Linked DNA regions of Homo sapiens: all the other regions are linked to region 3. The links are contacts of gene promoters, found by promoter capture Hi-C in blood cells and fetal thymus (Javierre and others, 2016). All regions are on one chromosome and are shown on one strand. The core of a region is centred on a gene start or on the middle of the fragment in contact, and the rest is flanking DNA. Distances in the headings are between cores, read along the strand shown. Region 1 overlaps C1orf159 (chromosome 1 open reading frame 159). Region 2 overlaps LOC124903820 (a long non-coding RNA gene). Region 3 holds the start of DVL1 (dishevelled segment polarity protein 1).

Region 1 (3,985 bases), core at 429-2,928, 240 kb after region 3:
TTTTGGTGCTCCCATCACCCGAGCAGTACGCACTGCACCCTATTTGTAGCTTTTTATCCTTGTCCCCCTCCCACCCTTCCCTCCGAGTCCCCAAAGTCCAGTGTATCGTTCTTAGGCGTCTTCCTGTTTCCTGATGGCTTAACCTGGGAAACCCTCGCAGAGGGAGCCGGTTTTGAGCCCCAGGGTAGGGGCGGCCGCCTGGGATGTTCAGTGATGCGCCTGATTACTCAGGTTTATGTTCCCCGTTTGCATTCAGCCAGGATCCGTCATGGCCACGTTGTTTTTAACATACATGTTTATGAATTATACAGAAACGTTGTTTTCCTGACACACATCCCGCCCCCAGTACTCCTCCTAAAAGCCAGTCAGGCAGGTGTTTCCACACGCAGTCACCTCAGCCCTGGGGTGCACAGGCAGCATCCCGGGAACCCCTGAGATACCTCCCAGCTGCTCCCTGCCTTGCGGCTGCTCTCCACCTGAGCTTTGACTTACTGGGTAGCTCATTTAAAGAACAGCTAGCGCTGTGGGTGCTGGGGTGGGAGATCGCTTGAGACCAGTCTGGGCAACATAGGGAGACCTCGTCTCTATAAAAAATAAAAAATATTATCCAGGCATGGGGGCAAGCACCTGTGGCCCGTTACAGTAGGTAGCTAGTCAGACATGAGCAGGGCAGAAGAGGGGCCCCCCTCTACCAGGGACATTTGGCTGGTAAGAGAAGGCGGCCCTGGCTGTGCGCGGTGGCTCACACCTGTAATCCCAGCACTTTGCAAGGCCGTGGGGGGAGGGGGGCGGATCAGAAGGCCAGGAGTTTGAGATCAGCCTGGCGAATATGGTGAAACCCCGTCTCTGATAAAAATACAAAAATTAGCCGGGCATGGTGGCGGGCGCCTGTGGTCCCAGCTACTCAGGAGGCTGAGGCAGGAGAATCGCTTGAACTCGGGAGGCGGAGGTTGCAGTGAGCCGAGATTGCGCCACTGCACTGCAGCCTGGGTGACAGAGCGAGACTCCATCTCAAAAAAAAAAAAAAAAAAAAAGGCCTCGAGGGAGCGTGCGCACAACTCCAGTAAACTCTGTGCATGCTCCCTCCCAAGTGCCCGCAGCCGCTGTGCGGGTGGACGGCCCACCCCGAGGGAAGAATCGGGAGACGTAACACCCCGGAAGCCTCCAGCGTGGAAGACCCTAAGTCAAAGGTCAAACTGCGCACTTGATCTCTCAGGTCTCCTGCCTGGCCTTCTTCCAAGGGCGCTTTACTTCCTTTCATTCCTGCTCTAAAGCTTCTTCATAAACTGTTGCTCCTGCTCTAAGGTCTCTTCTGCCTCCTACCCGTCCATCAAACTCTTCTGAGGAGGGAAAAATTGAGGTTCACTGCTGCTAACATGCTTTGGTGTCAGAAGTGGGACATATTCTGCCACTAACAGTCCCAGCTACTCGAGGGACTGAGGCAGGAGGATCGCTTCAGCCCCGGAGGTGGAGACTGCAGTGAGCCGAGATCGCAACGATGCACTCCAGCCTGTTTCACAAAGAAAAGAAAGAGCCACCTCTTCTCACCACTCTGGCTGAGGGTTGCGTGTGCCGAGGTGGAGTGTGGAGCTCAGGTGAGCCTTCAGAGCTCTATTACTGGCAGAATGTATCTGAGTTTCAGCACCAAAGTATGTCAGCAGCGGCCTCGATTCTCGCTGCCTCAGAAGAAAGAATTTGATGGAAGGACATGAGGCTGAAGGAGAGACTGAGGCAAGTTTTTTTTTTTTTTTTGAGATGGAGTCTGTCTCTGTCGCCCAGGCTGGAGTGCAGTGGCACAATCTCGGCTCACTGCAAGCTCTGCCTCCCGGGTTCATGTCATTCTCCTGCCTCAGCCTCCCGAGTAGCTGGGACTACAGGTGCCTGCCACCACAACCGGCTAATTTTTTGTATTTTAGTAGAGAAGGGGTTTCTGCATTTTGGTCAGGCTGGTCTCGAACTCCCAACCTCAGATGATCCACCCACCTCAGCCTCCCAAAGTGCTGGGATCACAGGCGTGAGCCACCGCACCCCACCGACTAAGGCAAGTTTTAGAGCAGGAGTGAAAGTTGTTGAAGAAGCTTTAGAGCAGGAAGGAAAGGAAGTACCCTTGGAGGAGGGCCAGACGGGCGATGTGAGAGATCAGGTGTGCGGTTTCACCTTTTGACTTGGGGTTTTATAGCCTGGCAGGCTTCTGGGGTCTTGCACCCCTTCTCCCCTGATCCTTCTTCAGGGTGGGCTGTCCACCCATGCAGCATCTTGCTAGTACTTGGGCGGGAGCATGCGCCATGTGTTCCCTGGAGGGAGGGAGCATGCCCGGTGTGTTCACTGGAGGGAGGGAGCATGCCCCGTGTATTCACTGGGGGGAGGGAGCATGCGCTGTGTGTTCACTGGAGGGAGGGAGCGTGCGCGTTGTGTTCACTGGAGGGAGGGAGCATGTGCCGTGTGTTCACTGGAGGGAGGTAGCATGTGCCGTGTGTTCACTGGAAGGAGGGAGCATGCGCTGTGTGTTCACTGGAGGGAGGGAGCGTGTGCGTTGTGTTCACTGGAGGGAGGGACCGTGCGCCGTGTGTTCACTGGAGTAGTGCCCATGCTCACCTGAGGCGTTCTTCCGTTACCTGTCAAACGTCCCTAGAAGGTCATAGAACGGTTACACGCCGCCATTTTGCCTCTCAGTGCACACGCTTGAGCCAACTCGCCCAGTTCCTGAGATCGTATCGGGAAGCTGCCCATCACCGGATTTCATGTGTTTTCTAGCTATTGGGAGCCTGTCTTTCCCTGGCGCTGGGTGCAACCAGTTCTTTTAGACAGTTAACAGCCACCTGACCATCACCTGATGGTGGCCTGACATTCCCGGTGGGGGGATGGGCCCGATCCTGCCCTGCTCACGTCTGCTGAGCCACCTACGGCAACCGCCCGACTCCGGTGTGCTGAGCCCACGGGTAGGTGGGCAGCGACTACCATGCATGTCAACAAAGGGGGATGTCTCCTTTACACCCCATCAAGGGGTTTGCGGTATTTGTTTTCTATCAAAGCACGAGAGGGATCTTTAGGTAGAGAGGCCCCAGACAGTTCTTATTGGGCCCTTAAAGCTACGTTTCACGTTGGCTTCCTTTGCTTGCTACGAAGATGACCAGCATTAGCTACACGGATGCAGTGGAAGCTCCAGCCAGCCCTCGGGGCTGTGTTTACCGAGGTTCAGCAGCGTGAGAAACCCGCCAGTGGACCCTCCCGCCTCCCCTTTTCAGTTACTGCTGCCTGGGCGGCTGGAGTTACGGTGAGCGTGGGTGTGGTCTACCCACTGCCCCAGCCGGTGGTTGCTTTTACAGGGTTGTTTTGCAAGATGTTACTTATTTAAAATCACAGTGACCTGAGGCATCATTTTTTTCTTGAAACCAGTTCTTTGTTGTTGTTGTTGAGACGGGGTCTGGCTCTGTCGCCCAGGTAGAGTGCAGTGGTGCGATCATGGCTCACTGTAGCCTTGACCTCCCAGGCTCAAGAGATTCTTTCACTTCAGCCTCCCAAATAGCTGGGACCACAAGTATACGTCACCAAGCCCAGCTATTTTTTTTTTTTTTTTTTTTTGGTAGAGATGAGATCTCACTCTGTTGTCCGGGCTGGTTTTGAACTCCTGGGCTCAAGCGATCCTCCCACCTTGGCCTCCCAAAATGATGGGATTGCAGGCCTGAGCCTCCACACCTGCCCTGAAACCAGTTCTTCTAAGGGAAAATAAGAGTGGTCAAAGAGTGTATAGCACAATTTAAATTCTCACTAAATTTTTCATTGCCTTGTAGAAATTTTCATCCCATTATTTAGCTTTTTGGCTCCAATGAGATTTTCAAAATAGAAAATGCATGTGTTTAGTTACTAAGGCATAATTTACATGCAGTGAAACACACAGAGCTTGTGTCCAGTTCAATTGTTTTGACAAAGGATTCACCAGACTCCTGTCGTGATGTAGAATCTGCCTGTGATCCATGGAGATTGC
Region 2 (4,475 bases), core at 696-3,195, 220 kb after region 3:
TCCACCTGTAGCTCCCCCGGGCTCCCCAGGGTTCCTGGTCCTTCTCCTCTGTGTTTCCTGCTTGCTCCTAAAACTCAGCTTTCAGGCGGAACACACAGCCCGGAACCACCCTGCTCTCAGGCGGAACCCGCGAGCACACGCAGCAGAGCTCTGCTCTTCCTGGGGTTTTAAGGATGAGACATTGCAAGGTCCCCCGGGCTACACAGTGACCCCTCTGGCAGGTTGTGCCCCCAGAGTTCATGGTTAGAATCCAAACTCTCAGTACCAACAACGCGAGCGTGTGTGGAGAAGGGGCTACGAGACAGGTGAGTATGTGGGAAGCAGCCGTGAGGATGAGCCCTGGCCGGGTCCCACTGGTGTCCTAGTTGCAGGAGGAGGTTAGGGCAGAGGGACACGGGACGGACCTGCGCAGAGGCCGCCTGAGAGAAGGCAGCAGCGGGAGAGGCCTCCGCAGAACCAGCCCGGCAACCCTGGGACACCGGACCTTCCCCTCCCCCTCCGAGGCTGTGAGAAAATACATTTCTGTTGCTTAAGTCCCCAGGCTCGGTATTTTGTTCCAGCAGCTGGAGCTAGGACAACCCCAGACGCACCCGGCCAGCCCTGAGGGAGGGCGTTCACCGGCTTCCCATACGCATTGTAGGAGGCCGCATGGGCACCCTCCTCAGCCCTGGGCACCCTTGTCGTACCTGACAACCCTGTGTAGATTCCCTGCAAGCATCCAGGGTCCAAGGCGGCCGCAGGCTCCTCAGACAAAGGGCTTCCTCCACACATGGGCTCAGGGCTACGGGCTCCCTGACATCGACCTCCCCGGCAGCCGCCCTGGTGTTTCTCCCATTTGCCAGCGGACACATCCCAGGTGACACCCCACCTCGGAAGAGGCCCTCCTGGCAGGTGCCTGGCCCCAATGCCCAACGCAGGGCTCGCGGCGGCGATGGCGGCGGGTCTCAGGCAGGAGTGGGATCTCTCTGCTGTCCGGTCCTGCCCCTTGCCCCTGAGAGGCCCCACAACCCCACCCCCAGCACACCCTGCATGGGCACCCCCGTCTCAGGCTCTGCCTCCCGTGCCCTGACCCTGGGCGCAGAGGGCCACGTGCCTGTGACTCCGCTTCCCTGGCGGTGAGGGGTCCGGCCTTGTGTCCCATGACTCGGGCTCTGCTCCCTGACGACCTCGCTGGGGCTGCCCCCACCCTTCCGTGGAGTCCTTTGCGACGGTTTCTAAGGGCTCAGAGTGCAGCATTGATTTCAACCATGTGTCTCTGTCATTAAAATAGTCCCCTGACTTTGCCTGTGGAATGTTTTGCTCTCTTCCCATTTTAAGTTAAATGTGGTCAGTGTGACGGAAGGAAATGCGGGTTTTTCTCCAGACCGTCTTGTGCAAGGAGAAGAAGCCTTGAAAAGAAGAGGCACAAACTATCAGGAACGTCCTCGAAGAGATGAGCGAAAGCACGTGGCCACAGAAAACCATGAGGATGCAACAGAAAGAACGACTCCGAGGGGCCGGGCGTGGCGGCTCACGCCTGTCATCCCAGCACTATGGGAGGCCGAGGCGGGCGGATCATGAGGTCAGGAGATCGAGACCATCCTGGCCGACACGGTGAAACCCCGTCTCTACTAAAAATACAAAAAATTAGCCAGGCATGGTGGTGGGCACCTGTAGTCCCAGCTACTCGGGAGGCTGAGGCAGGAGAATGGCGTGAACCAGGAGGCGGAGCTTGCAGTGAGCCGAGATCACATCACTGCACTCCAGCCTGGGCGACAGAGCGAGACTCCGTCTTAAAAAGAATGACTCCGAGGACAGAAACGAAAAGCGCTGGAAGGGACGGAGCCAGGACGTTCCCCGAACGTGACGTGAAAAGGCAAAGAAAATGGGATAGAAAAGGTGATTAGAGGACCTGCTCCAAATTGCAGCAATATTCACCAGAGAAAGAGAGAGCAACAACAAAAAGAAAAGATAAAGAACAAAATCATTTAAAAATTGTAATTCAAGAACATTTCCTGGAGCCGAAGCTCAGGCATTTCCAGACAGAAAGAGCCACTGAGGACCCCGTGAAAGGGATGAAAACGGAACCACACAAAGATCCACCTTCACAGGACAGCAGAGATGGAGACAAAAAGAAGGCCCCAAAAACTTTCAGGAAAAAACCCGCAGAAACAGGTTCCATACCAAGGCCCCGGGGTTGGGATGCCATTGCCGGACCCACAGCAGCCTCGGGAGCCGGGGACCCTGCGGCGAGGTTTTCTCAACTCGCAGGGAAGCGAAGGCCTTGGTGGGGGCCCGCCCTGTGCCCTTCACAGGCAGCTGCAGCTGTGGGCGTGGTGGGGGCCCACCCCCTGCACCTCACGGGGAGCTGCGAGGGGCTTGTTCCACCAAAACACTGAGAAGACAAGAAAGGGGAGGTGTGGGGCCCGGGAAAATCCCACCCAGGGGAGAAGCAATGGGACCTTTGTGACACGGACCACGAAGCCTGCAAGACGCCAGCCCTGCCCCAGGCCCGAGGGAGCCGACCAGCCCCGGGCAGGGCAGGAGGCTCCCGGAGGCCCCTCAGAAATACCTGGCGTGCCGGAATTTAAGTCATGGGGGAGAGTCTGAGGCTGAATTAGTAATGAGTTCAGAGAAAGCTAAGCAAGAAGAAAAGCAAAGGCGATTATTAACTTCAGGGAAACAGCTCAGAGTTCGGGTGAGAACAGGCGGCCACGGTGGACCTGGCACCAAGCTAGTCCCCGGCGCCCAGCAGAGTGACAGCAGAGACCAGGCGCGGCGCGTGACGGCGGGACGAGAGGTGGGAGGGCGGCAAACAGCCCCTTCCACAGGGCAGATTCAGGGCTGACCCTGAAGCTGGAGTGCTGAGAAGCTGCCGTTTGCCAGTGACGTTGGAAGTAAACACAGGAGCCTCCCAGCACACGGAGCTGGTGGCCTCGGCGCGGCCTGAAGATCATATGTGTCCAAGCCTTGCAGAAGTGTTTGACTCTCAAGCAACCTACAGGCATAACTGGTTTTTTTTTTTTTTTTTTTTTTTTTTTTTTGAGACAGAGTCTCACTCTGTTGCCCAGGCTGGAGGGCAATGGTGCCATCTGAGCTCACTGCAACCTCCGCCTTCCAGGTGCAAGCGATTGTCCTGCCTCAGCCTCCAGAGTAGCTGGAATTATAGGTGCCCGCCACCACATCCAGCTAATTTTTTTGTATTTTTAGTAGAGACAGGGTTTCATCATGCTGACCACGCTTGTCTCGAACTCCTGACCTCAAGTGATCCGCCCGCCTTGACCTCCCAAATGCGAACCACTGTGTCCGGCCACAAGCATAACTTTGATAGAAAAGGCAATAACAAATTAAGTTGGTGCGAGCTTTACCCTCTGAGTCCTCGGAATCATTTTTAAAACATAAAGGTTTCCAGAACTCACAGCTGTGAACTTAACTGTTCTCAAGGGGGTATCTTTGATTGATTTTCCTAACTCTTCTACGATAATCGGCCTTTTCCCCTCTTCTGCTTCCTCTCGTTCTGGCAGCCGATGCTCACATCCATAACAGTGTCTGTTTCCCTGGATTTTCCCATCCCAGGGCCACGCAGAGTGCAGCTCCCCTACACGGCCACGGCATTCTGTCCCTCTGTCGCGTGGCCATGCGTGGCTCAGTGCCGTGGGAGCCTCTCCGTGTCTGAGGCCGAGGGCAGGCTGGTGCCCCATTCGCTCTGTGCCTCACAGGCGGCCCTGATGCTCTGTGCTCCAAATCTCTGCAGGACTGGATTTCGGCCGGGACAGAGGAGGCTGTGCCCCCACCCACGTTGTTCCCAATGCCCACGCACCTTGTCAACTGGAATAAATTTGGTTTCCCTGCAAGAGCTCTCTGCCAGGAAATGTAAATCATGGCTTCTCAGTCTCTCTCCCCCTCTGAGGGCCCCCTGGCTGGGTCATTCACAGGCCCCGAGGAACTCTGGGGCCTTCGCAGCCATCTTTTCCTACAGGAACCCCCAGACACCCATAATCATCACGGGGACCCAAGACCCCAGCTTCTCCCGGGGGGCACATGGTCACCCTGTGGCCCCCTCCAGGCATCTCCGCTCAGGCTGTGGGACCCCAGGCCCGGCCCACCTGGCCAGCACAGCCCTGCAGGCCCCAGCTGACCCTCACCACCCCCCAGCCAATAGCAGAAGCCGCCAGCCCTGGGGAAGGCCCTCCGGCTGAATCCCTCCTCTTCTGAGGCCTTGCCCTCCCCGCGGGCTCCGCCTGCCACAACTGTGCCCTGGGCTCACCAGCGGGACCCCCAGGTCCTCCCCAGCACACCATGGAGGCCCCTAAGGGCTGGGCCTTGGCCAGGCGACTGGGGAGGGGCTGGTCCCGGAAGAAAAGCTTTGTGGGGCCGTGGGTGCGGGGGCTTTCGGCTCATCAGAAGCCACCAGCCCTTGAGACAAAACCTCCCAGACGCTGTGGGTCAGACCCACAGAGCCTCAGTCCTACCTGGTCCTGGGAGGGCGGAGGGCG
Region 3 (3,942 bases), core at 1,411-3,910:
CATCCTCCAGTCCTCCCAGGACAGTGGGGGTGGGAAAGGGTGACAGTTGCCCACAAGGACCCCACACAAGCATGGATGGGGAGGGAGGGAGGCTGGTCTGGGGAGGTGTGGCTTGAAGATGCACCCCCCTCCCAGCCCGGTTACCTCTGGCCTCACCAGTGGCCACACCTGTCAGGGCCCCAGCTGGACCACATCCGCGTCAGCAACGGGACTGGCCTCAGGCCTCTGGCTTCCAGCCTCTCTTGAGACCTAGCCTGGGGTCAGGCCCTCAGGGCAGGGACAGGCTTCCTCCCTCCCTGGGGCCTCAACAGATAGCCCCTCTTAGGTCTTCCTGCCTGGCTTCTGACCTCTGGGGAAGAGAAGGGCTGCGGGAAGGTGGAGGGGGCTGGCGGCTAAGCTGTCCGGGCTTGGCTGAGCAAACGCCACAGTTCTCCCTCTCAGAGCCCGGGTGCAGGGTCAGGATCCCAGGCCCAAGCTGACCGTCAAGCACTGGTGCCTGCACTGATCGGTTTCTTTCCGAGCCGGTGCAGCCCCCAGCACGGTCAGGGCCCGATAGATGCCAGTTCCATCTCGCCGGCTTCCTGGGGACGGGAACCAAGGGACCCCACCGCACTCTCTTCCCCATCGCTCCAGCCCCGTCCAGGCCCCCTCCTCACTCCCCCCGTCGCTCCTGCCCCGTCCAGGCCCCCTCCTCACTCCCCCCGTCGCTCCTGCCCCGTCCAGGCCCCCTCCTCACTCCCCCCGTCGCTCCTGCCCCGTCCAGGCCCCCTCCTCACTCCCCCCGTCGCTCCTGCCCGGTCCAGGCCCCCTCCTCACTCCCCCCGTCGCTCCTGCCCCGTCCAGGCCCCCTCCTCACTCCCCCCGTCGCTCCTGCCCCGTCCAGGCCCCCTCCTCACTCCCCCCGTCGCTCCAGCCCCGTCCAGGCCCCCTCCTCACTCCCCCCGTCGCTCCTGCCCCGTCCAGGCCCCCTCCTCACTCCCCCCGTCGCTCCTGCCCCGTCCAGGCCCCCTCCTCACTCCCCCCGTCGCTCCTGCCCGGTCCAGGCCCCCTCCTCACTCCCCCCGTCGCTCCTGCCCGGTCCAGGCCCCCTCCTCACTCCCCCCGTCGCTCCTGCCCCGTCCAGGCCCCCTCCTCACTCCCCCCGTCGCTCCTGCCCCGTCCAGGCCCCCTCCTCACTCCCCCCGTCGCTCCTGCCCCGTCCAGGCCCCCTCCTCACTCCCCCCGTCGCTCCTGCCCCGTCCAGGCCCCCTCCTCACTCCCCCCGTCGCTCCTGCCCGGTCCAGGCCCCCTCCTCACTCCCCCCGTCGCTCCTGCCCCGTCCAGGCCCCCTCCTCACTCCCCCCGTCGCTCCTGCCCCGTCCAGGCCCCCTCCTCACTCCCCCCGTCGCTCCTGCCCCGTCCAGGCCCCCTCCTCACTCCCCCCGTCGCTCCTGCCCCGTCCAGGCCCCCTCCTCACTCCCCCCGTCGCTCCTGCCCCGTCCAGGCCCCCTCCTCACTCCCCCCGTCGCTCCTGCCCCGTCCAGGCCCCCTCCTCACTCCCCCCGTCGCTCCTGCCCCGTCCAGGCCCCCTCCTCACTCCCCCCGTCGCTCCTGCCCCGTCCAGGCCCCCTCCTCACTCCCCCCGTCGCTCCTGCCCGGTCCAGGCCCCCTCCTCACTCCCCCCGTCGCTCCTGCCCGGTCCAGGCCCCCTCCTCACTCCCCCCGTCGCTCCAGCCCCGTCCAGGCCCCCTCCTCACTCCCCCCGTCGCTCCTGCCCCGTCCAGGCCCCCTCCTCACTCCCCCCGTCGCTCCTGCCCCGTCCAGGCCCCCTCCTCACTCCCCCCGTCGCTCCTGCCCCGTCCAGGCCCCCTCCTCACTCCCCCCGTCGCTCCTGCCCCGTCCAGGCCCCCTCCTCACTCCCCCCGTCGCTCCTGCCCCGTCCAGGCCCCCTCCTCACTCCCCCCGTCGCTCCTGCCCCGTCCAGGCCCCCTCCTCACTCCCCCCGTCGCTCCTGCCCCGTCCAGGCCCCCTCCTCACTCCCCCCGTCGCTCCTGCCCCGTCCAGGCCCCCTCCTCACTCCCCCCGTCGCTCCTGCCCCGTCCAGGCCCCCTCCTCACTCCTCCCATCCTGGGCCGCCCTCTAGTGGCCTCCGCGCTTCCTGCTGGGGTCGGGTCGGGAAGGCCTCCAGCCCCGCGAGCCCCGGAACAGTAAGCGCGGACGCCCCGCGGCCTCAAGGGACGCCTCGGAAGTCTCCCCTGCCCTGCGGAGAACCCCAGGACTAAATCCCTCCCGCCGCCGGGCGCTCCGACGCCTCCGTGCACGCCCGCGCCCCCGCGCGCCCCGCATCCGCTCGGCCTGCTGCCTGGACCCCGTGGGACCCGGCAGAGGGCACGCGAGTCGGGAGCCTTCGCGGTGGCGCAGAGCGACCGGGCGCCACCTCAGCGCCGCGCACCCGGCGTCCCCGGGGTCCCTCCGCCCGACCCGAGCGCCCCGGCGCCCACGGGCCCACAGCCAGCGGCGCGCGTCGCATGCGCCGGATCATAATGGAGCGCGGGCCCGCGCGCGGGGGCGGGGCCGGGGCGGGGCGGGGCGAGCGATGATCGCCTGCGTCTGCGCATCCTCGCCCCGCCCCCGCCGTGCGCCCCCGTGACGTCAACGCCGCGCGCTCGGGCGCCCCCCCGCGGCCACGCTCAGGACCCCGGGCCGGGCGGTCCCTTTAACGGCGCGGCCCGAGGGGCGCAGGCGGGAGGGCGGCGGGGCTGAGCGCGCCCTCCGTGCTGCGTCCCTCGCGCCGCTCCCGGGCCGGGGGCGGATGGGCGGCCGCGGGCCGCGGGGCAGCAGTCGGGACGCGCGCGGGAGCCGGGGGCGGCGGCCGGGGCCTGGGCGGTCGGGCGGGGGCGCCCGGGGGCCTCGGAGCGTCGGGGCCGAGAGCGGTGCGGGCCGGGCGGGGCGCAGGCGGGCGGGCGGGTAGCGCCCCGCGTCCGAGCCCCGGGCCGGGCCCTGAGCGCGCGGGCTCCGCGCCGCCGCCGCGCCATGGCGGAGACCAAGATTATCTACCACATGGACGAGGAGGAGACGCCGTACCTGGTCAAGCTGCCCGTGGCCCCCGAGCGCGTCACGCTGGCCGACTTCAAGAACGTGCTCAGCAACCGGCCCGTGCACGCCTACAAATTCTTCTTTAAGTCCATGGACCAGGACTTCGGGTCAGTCGGCCGCGAGGCCTGCGCGAGCCTGGCGCGGGCTCGGGGGTCGCACCTGCCCGCGCGGGGACGGGGCGGGGGTCCTGAGCCGTTCGCGCCCCCGGGGACCTGCGACCGCGACGCGCCTCCGCTAGATGCGGCGCGGGTGGCGGCCTCGGCCCGTGTGCGGCGCGCGCCCACCTGTCCGTGGAGCGGGGCGATGGCAGGCGGGGTTCCCGGCGTCCCTGGCCCCAGCTTCCCGGCCCCGAGTCCTGCCTTGGCCCGTGTCAGACTCGGTCGGCCGCATCGCTTCCACCGGGGCTGGCCGGGAGCGCCTGCCGTTGGTGCGGGCTGGGGTCAGGGGCGTGTCAGTGGGAAGGAAGCAGGGTGGGGTTCCCTAGCTGGGATGGGGAGACATGGGGGTACAGGTTCACCAACCTGTCTGCTAGGGTTTGCAGAAGCTTCCCGAGGGTCAAGACAGGTTCTCCTGGCCCCCTTCTGCAGGGTCCTTGTGACAGGGTGGAGGTCAAGGGCCACTGGTGACCATGAAACTTTATTCGCCTACCCGTGTCCTGAGCTTCCTGTGGGCCCCGTCCCCACTGAGCCACAAAGCACTTGCGTTCCCGGAGCAGCCCAGACCATCTGCTGTTTCGGGGCAGCCTGGGTCAGCGTCTCCCTGCTGGGCCTCGGTGGTGGTGTCCCAGGCGAGGAGACCCCTGCTGTGCTGAGCTGGGCCCTCTGGGACAGGGAGCAGGAGCCTGGCGGTCTGCTTGAGGCCTGGCCT

What was found. The method cuts DNA at HindIII sites, captures the fragments that hold promoters and counts their contacts. A CHiCAGO score of 5 or more calls a contact.
Region 1: a contact is called between a fragment that was not itself captured here and the fragment with the promoter of DVL1 in region 3, in 9 of 17 cell types (activated CD4 T cells, total CD4 T cells, fetal thymus and 6 more). The highest score is 9.9, in activated CD4 T cells.
Region 2: a contact is called between a fragment that was not itself captured here and the fragment with the promoter of DVL1 in region 3, in 4 of 17 cell types (M0 macrophages, non-activated CD4 T cells, naive CD4 T cells and 1 more). The highest score is 6.3, in M0 macrophages.

The regions. Positions count from the first base shown.
Region 1 is chr1:1,110,963-1,114,947 of GRCh38, reverse strand. The region is part of intron 1 of C1orf159 (chromosome 1 open reading frame 159); the gene reads left to right. Among named protein-coding and RNA genes, the nearest start is that of C1orf159, 3.1 kb to the left of the region's middle. RefSeq lists enhancers at 2,145-2,439, 2,658-3,159. The HindIII fragment of the contact is 804 bases long and covers 1,277-2,080 here.
Region 2 is chr1:1,128,735-1,133,209 of GRCh38, reverse strand. It overlaps LOC124903820 (a long non-coding RNA gene), which reads right to left. Exons shown (of 3, transcript XR_007065351.1): 1 at 4,452-4,475. It overlaps LOC124903819 (a long non-coding RNA gene), which reads left to right and starts at 4,226. Exons shown (of 2, transcript XR_007065349.1): 1 at 4,226-4,475. The HindIII fragment of the contact is 4,801 bases long and covers 1-4,345 here.
Region 3 is chr1:1,348,136-1,352,077 of GRCh38, reverse strand. It overlaps DVL1 (dishevelled segment polarity protein 1), which reads left to right and starts at 2,660. Exons shown (of 15, transcript NM_001330311.2): 1 at 2,660-3,182. The coding sequence starts at 3,013. RefSeq lists silencers at 2,039-2,188, 2,209-2,528, 2,629-2,808 and an enhancer at 3,698-3,942. The HindIII fragment of the contact is 21,682 bases long and covers 1-3,621 here.